Regions from separate parts of the Homo sapiens genome. Here region 1 is linked to region 2. Evidence: promoter capture Hi-C in human tissues and cell types (Jung and others, 2019). All regions are on one chromosome and are shown on one strand. Each heading gives the region's core, a stretch centred on a gene start or on the middle of the fragment in contact. The rest is flanking DNA. Distances are from core to core; before and after follow the strand shown. Region 1 has its middle 110 kb from the start of PRSS1. Region 2 holds the start of TRPV6 (transient receptor potential cation channel subfamily V member 6).

Region 1 (3,426 bases), core at 381-2,880, 250 kb after region 2:
GGTGAATGAGGCTGACGCTGTGAGCTCACATATGGTTGCTCCAAACCATATGCAATTTCTGGAGAAGGTATTTTTATGTAACATACTGAGGTAGAGATGTCAATTGAAAAATGTAAAGACGAAATTGAATTAGGCTGACGTGAAATCTTGGCAGAAAATATTTTTATTGAGTACATTTATAATCTTGTTAAAATAAAATTTAGGAAAATATATATAAGATCTGTATAATAAAAAATACAAAGCGATGCTGAGAGAAATTAACAAGACCTCAATAAAGAGATGTGAGGGACTTTCTGAGACGATGAAAATGTTTTGTATCTTGATTGTCATCATGGTTACATCATGGGTATAAAAATGTGTTAAAATTTGTTGAAGTGTACACTTAAAATGCGGGTGTGTTTTATTGCAGCAGTTGGATTTGTTTATTGCATACATATTCCATATATATCTTATGTCTCAATAGAGTTGCTTTAAAAATGTTCGTAATTGTTGGCCAGGCGTGGTGGCTCATGCCTGTAATCCCAGCACTCTGGGAGGCCGAGGCAGGCGGATTACGAGGTCAGGAGATCGAGACCATCCTGGCTAACACGGTGAAACACCGTCTCCACTAAAAGAAATACAAAAAATTAGCTGGGCGTGGTGGCGGGCGCCTGTAGTCCCAGCTACTCGGGAGGCTGAGGCAGGAGAATGGCGTGAACCCAGGAGGCGGAACTTGTAGTGAGCCGAGATCACGCCACTGCACTCCAGCCTGGATGACAGAGCGAGACTCCGTCTCAAAAAAAAATTAAAATAAATATAAATAAATAAATAAAAATAAAAATTTGTGATTGTAACATTCCATAGGGCAGGAATTGCTAATGGTTCCCACTAGGCTTCTATGGCAGGGAGAGCTGTGAGAAGCAGTCAAAAAGCCCTTTAGAGTCTGTCTCTAGTTCAAGGAAATGTGCTGGGTCAGAAGATCAGGGTCTACCTGAAAGACACAGTTGATCCGCTTGTCATTCTTATTTGTGCACCCACAACTTTACCAAGTGAAAAGCACAGAATCCCCTTCTTTAAATAAAGATTGTTAGAAATCCATAAAGCTCATGTAGAGAGAGAGAGAGGGTAACCTAGCATATCTTACCTAATATGCTGAACACTGAGGAATCCAAGCTTTTTATGCCTTCTGGCCCCTTCCCTGGGGTTTTGTCCCCATCAGTTGTTTTAAATAACCCCCCTTTGTTTTTTGCTCACTTAGAGCTGTTATTTACAAGTTTTTCCTTCTGATTTATTGTCTTTCAAGTTGGGTTTCTGTTACGTAGTGCCTACCAACCTGCTACACACTTATTTCCTGAGCTGGGTCCATAATGAGTTTGTGTTCTAAGAAGGGCTAACATTCGGCACTGTGGCTTTGCTGCTGGCACAGAAATACAGTGCTGTGTCCCCTGACTCCGTGGACTGGATCTCCAAGGTACAGGATGAGTTTTTGGAGCATTGGGCTAAAAATCGCTCATTGATTATTTCTGCTTTCTGAATAAGTTCTTCGTTCTGAAAGTAAACCAAAAACTTGAGCTCTTCTTCCAGCTTCTTACGATACCAGTAAACATAACTATGTGCTTTTATAGGAACACAATCCATCTTTGCTTTCTGTTCACTTGCTTTGGCCAGAAGTCTAGGTCTCTGGGTGACCTTGGTGTCCGTGGAGCCTGTGGAGGAAGGAGAGAGCAGCTGTAGAAAAAGCGCAGGAGGGAGCTTGATACTGCAGCCACCGGAGAGAGTCTTGGAACTGAAATTCAACCAGTTCAGAACAGGGCCTTACCTGGCTCCCCAGAAAGAAATGGCCACACAGCAGAGAAGTCTGAGGCACATGGTTGGCTCAGAAAGAAATCGTAGTGGTAGCTTTTTCTGTAAGGCTTCTTCACCCACTCTCCTAGCCCCCGTCAGCAACCTCCTTGTGACGTGATCACTTTCCATAGCCTTTGTAGATGCTCTGTACATGGGACAGAGTCATTTCAATTTCAAAGAATGTAGGAGGGCAGACTTTGTTTTAGCTGTTAAAAATAGTGTAAGTTTCAGCCTGCTTTTAGTTTTTTTTTTTTCTGTTACTCACTGTTTTGCTATTTTTTTTAAGTAAAATCACTCATACATTTATTTACTTAAAAAATTATTATACTTTAAGTTCTGGGGTACATGTGCAGAATGTGCACTTTTGTTACATAAGTATACACATGCCATGGTGGTTTGCTGCACCTATCAACCCATCATCTACATTAGGTATTTCTCCTAATGCTATCCCTCCCCTAGCCCTCCATCCCCCGACAGGCCCCATGTGTGATGTTCCCCTCCCTGTGTCCATGTGTTCTCATTGTTCAGCTCCCACTTATGAGGGAGAACATGCGGTGTTTGGTTTTCTGTTCTTGTGATAGATTGCTGAGAATGATGGTTTCCAACTTCATCTATGTCCCTGCAAAGGACATGAACTCATCCTTTTTTATGGCTGCATAATATTCCACGGAATATATGTGTCACATTTTCTTTATCCAGTCTATCATTGATGGGCATTTTGGTTGGTTCCAAGTCTTTGCTATTGTGAACAGTGGTGCAATAAACATGTATGTGCATGTCTCTTTATAGTAGAATGATTTATAATCCTTTGGGTATATACCCAGTAATGGGATTGCTGGGTCAAATGGTATTTCTGGTTCTAGATCCTTGAGAAATCTCCACACTGTCTTCCACAATGGTTGAACTAATTTACACTCTATTTACTTTTTTAACTTGTCAGTTTGCTTCTTCCCCTCCCTTCCATCTCAGGTAAGGAATCATACAACTCGGTCTTTACAAATAGTAGCTTTTGACACACTTATAAAATCACATAGCAGCTGCTTTACATTAAGTAAGTATTTATTTATTTATTTATTTATTTATTTATTTATTTATTTATTTATTTTTGAGACGGATCTTGCTCTGTCTCCCAGGCTGGAGTGCAGTGGCATGATCTCAGCCCACTGCAGCCTTTGTCTCCCGGGTTCAAGCAGTCTCCTGCCTCAGCCTCCTGAGTAGCTGGGATTACAGGCCCCCACCACCGCACCTGGCTAATTTTTGTATTTTTAGTAGAGACAGGCTTTCACCATGTCACTGGCTGGTCTTTAATTCCTGACCTCAAGTGATCTGCCCACCTCAGCCTCCCAAACTGTTGGGATTACAGGCATGAGCCACTGTGCCCGGCTACATTAAATAATGAAATGTTGAACTATACAGAACAATATTTATGACAAATATGCAATGCATATATAGAAGCAATAAAATGAATACCTTTGCCTGAACCAATCAGCTTAAGAGTTAGATTATTGCTGAAAATTTCTCAGTCCATGTTACTCTTTTAGATTTCCTCATTGTTTCTCCGTCATGCCCAGGTAGGTGTAATCTGAAGTTTAAATTTGTCAT
Region 2 (3,580 bases), core at 43-2,542:
GCCCCTTTCCAGTGGAAAAGTTGAACTAAATGACCTTTCCGACAGCTTCCAGCAAGCTCATGATGGAGCTCTTTGTTGTGGGAAGACGATGGGCCATGCTTAATGCCATCATTCTTCTGTATGACTGTGCGAGTCACTTAACCTCTCTGAAGCTCTGTTGGCCAGTTAGAATGAGGAGGTGTGCTAGGGAGAAAGAAGTGGGCTTGGAATGAGGGATGGGTGTGAATCTTGCCTCTGCCACCTCTATGGCCTTGGGAGAGTTCCTTTACCATGGTGAGCTTTGGTTTCTCCCATCAATACAATGTAGATAATAATACCTGCCTTGCAGGTTTGTTACGAGTTTACCTGGGAACGCTCAGTTAAAAGGCCCAGCACACAGTAGCAGCTGAATGTCACCTCCACGGGAAGGCTGGCAGATAGAATACTTGCAAAACGTGGGGTATATTTATACTAAAAAATTCTTTGTTGTTTATCTAAAATTCAAATTTGACCACGTGTCCTGTATTTTATCGGGCACCCACCCCATGCACGGGGCATTGTGGACAGTCTGTGGAGCTCCTGAGCAGGGGGTCTGCCCAGAGCTAGATTTTGTGCCCTGGCTGGTGAGCGAAGAATGCATTTTACATCTTTGGGGGTGGTTAGAAAACAACCACCAAAACAAAACCAAAGAATAACGTACATTAGAGAGTGTACATGGCTTGCAAAACCTAACATCTTTACATTTCCTATCAGCCCTTCCAGAAAAAGTTTGCTGACCCAAAGGTGATGGGGACTGAGAGGAAAGTCTGGGAGAACTGAGTATCTTCGCAATTTATATACCTATTTCAGGCCTGGCAAGAATGAAACTGGAAGAGTCCAGAAAATGGAATTCTCCAGGACATAAGCAGGGGGAGGCAGAGAGTGAGGCAGGTGGTCGGCAGAAGAGGCACTGTGGGAAAGTGGGGCGCTCCCTCCTGGGAGTCCTCAACATTGGGAATGGGCCTGCCCTGACTCCTCCCCTCCTTTCTCACTGCCTAGAGTCTCTCAGGGTAGGTCACTGGGTGTTCTGACGTCCAAGGGAGGCCTCGCCAGTCTTTCTGAAGGCCTCCCTGGTTGTGACTGGCCTGGGGGCAGGGAGAGAGCCCTGGGTGGAGAAAGAATTGGAGTTGGCACAAGTCCCCCTTGGTAGGCAGGTCTGTGGCTGGCCTGTGTCTTTAAATCTCAGGTAATTTGGGAGGAGGGAGGGCGTGTCCGTGCAGCTTTGGCTCCTCCTGCTCACTCCCAGCAGGAGCTCCAGACAGGCCAGCCCTGCAGAGTCCTGGCTGGCTCTGCCAAGTGTAACAAACTCACAGCCCTCTCCAAACTGGCTGGGGCTGCTGGGAGACTCCCAAGGAACTCGTCAGGAAGGCAGGAGACAGGAGACGGGACCTCTACAGGGAGACGGTGGGCCGGCCCTTGGGGGGGCTGATGTGGCCCCAAGGCTGAGTCCCGTCAGGGTCTGGCCTCGGCCTCAGGCCCCCAAGGAGCCGGCCCTACACCCCATGGGTTTGTCACTGCCCAAGGAGAAAGGGCTAATTCTCTGCCTATGGAGCAAGTTCTGCAGATGGTTCCAGAGACGGGAGTCCTGGGCCCAGAGCCGAGATGAGCAGAACCTGCTGCAGCAGAAGAGGTAAGGCCCCCTTGGTCTGCTCCCTTCCCCACCTCCCCAGGCCTGCACCTCTACCCCTCACCCCTCCCTCACCTCCCGTCTTTGTTTGGCACCTTTGGCTGGACAGATGGTGCTCCCAGGCCCGGACTGGCTCCTTGGGAGCATTCTGTCTTAAGAGCCTCAGCCTGTAGGGCTGGTGAAAGAGGATGGGGTTGAGATGGGCACAGGTGTTCACTATCTTAAGATCTAATTCGATTCTGCAAGCCTCTTGTGAGTACTTCTCTAAGGGCCAGGCGTCTTGCTGGGGCTTGTAAGGATAGAGCATCACAGCCCCTCCACCCAAGAGGGGACGGCAGGTGAGGACAATGCCTTCTGTATCTCCACTGCTTGCCTCTAGAACAGTCTCTCTGGCAGGAACACATAGTATACATATGTTCGCATGGAGGAATGAGTGAACGATTGAATGAATGAAGCAGAGAGAACCGCGGACACCAGGAACCAGAAAATAAGACAAAATGTGAAAAAAGTGACCATTCCTATGTATCTGTCTCATCAGACACTGACCAAGGCCTTACTATTTGCCCAGCACTGGGGGGATATGAAGACCTACAACGCTCAAACCCAACCTTGAGGTGTATTTCTCTCTCAGTGCGGGTGGGGACTGAGGGGAAGCGGGTCAAAATAACAGATGTTCCGAGGACCTGTGCTCTTCCGCATTCAGGTGGTGGAAATCGAGACTCTAGCGTTTAAGCCCTAAGGACATTCACTGGTGGCTTCCAGCCCCTGAAAACTTCCTAAACCCGTGTCCTGCTTTCTTCACCATGACAGCTTGGAGTACAGAGCAGGAGAGGAGCAGGGAATCGGAACTCAGGGCTATCCCTGCATGTGGTCTCTTCTTCAAGGTCTCTAATAGAGTTCTCTACCCAGTTGGTGGCATGCTAGAAGGAAGTCCTGCCTGTTGGGGCTTTCCCTGGGTCACGAAGGAGGCAGATGTCTGGTCATAGAGGAAAGCCTGAAGTCTTTGTGCCTTAGGGTTTTTCTCTGACCCCAAGAGTAGGAGCCTGCTTTAGCCTGACCGGGGAGGCTGCCTGGAGGCCCCTGTGTTTTCTTTTGCTGAAGGATTCTGGGTTGGGGATGGTCTCTTTCTGTGAATTATGGCTTCCCATCTCTCCAGCCGCCCACCTCTCCCCCAAGGCCTGGGAGAGTGGGGACTGGAGCACATGTTTGGCTGATGACATCTTGGGGCAACAGAATGGCATTGTTGTTAGAGAGTAGGTCGTCCTCACTGGCTTCACTCATCCTCTTCCCACTCTTAGGACCCCAGGGCCAGGGGATCCAGGCACAGAGTGCAAAAAGGCCTGGGGGATTGGAAGGGGTGGTGGAGATTCCCTGTGTGCGATATCAGGGGAGAGCAGAGGGGAGGCCCTGCGCTGAGTGGCTGAGAATAGGCTGCTTCCGCATGTCCTGTCTGCCCTCACTTTTCCTCAGATCATATGGGGGCTGCCTCTGCAGACTTTGGCTAGAAAGGCTTGATGTCACCCTTGGGAGGGATCCCCCCTCCCTGCCCTGATCTCCTTACTGGCCTCCGCACTTTCTTGGCCTTCTTCTTGCTGGATATCAGGTGTCCAGAGCAATGACTCTTCTTTGGGTGGGCACTTCCCAGAAGGATGCTGAAATTGCCTGCAAGGGGAGTTTCCTAATCTGTGCCGTCAACCAAAGAGAAGGCATGGGGGCATTGAGATAAACATGGGATGACTAAGTAAATAGGAACAATATGGACAAGTGAGGGGTGAGCTAATGGAAGAAAGGAGCACACAATGATTGAGAACCCAGTGCTGTACTAGGTACTACCACCTGCCTTATCTCCGTCATCCCGGTAACAATAATGGAAGGTGGGTCCTGTTATCCCCCTATGAATGGGGCAGGCCCAGAACCCTAGAGCAAGTAAATGGT

What was found. The method cuts DNA at HindIII sites, captures the fragments that hold promoters and counts their contacts. A contact is called where the count stands out against the background at its distance.
Region 1: a contact is called between a fragment that was not itself captured here and the fragment with the promoter of TRPV6 in region 2, in 1 of the 25 tissues and cell types used here (spleen).

What each region holds. Positions count from the first base shown.
Region 1 is chr7:142,635,346-142,638,771 of GRCh38, reverse strand. It overlaps TRB and the pseudogene TRBV21-1. Among named protein-coding and RNA genes, the nearest start is that of PRSS1, 110 kb to the left of the region's middle. The HindIII fragment of the contact is 4,866 bases long and covers 1-3,426 here.
Region 2 is chr7:142,883,457-142,887,036 of GRCh38, reverse strand. It overlaps TRPV6 (transient receptor potential cation channel subfamily V member 6), which reads left to right and starts at 1,292. Exons shown (of 15, transcript NM_018646.6): 1 at 1,292-1,648. The coding sequence starts at 1,401. The HindIII fragment of the contact is 20,954 bases long and covers 1-3,580 here.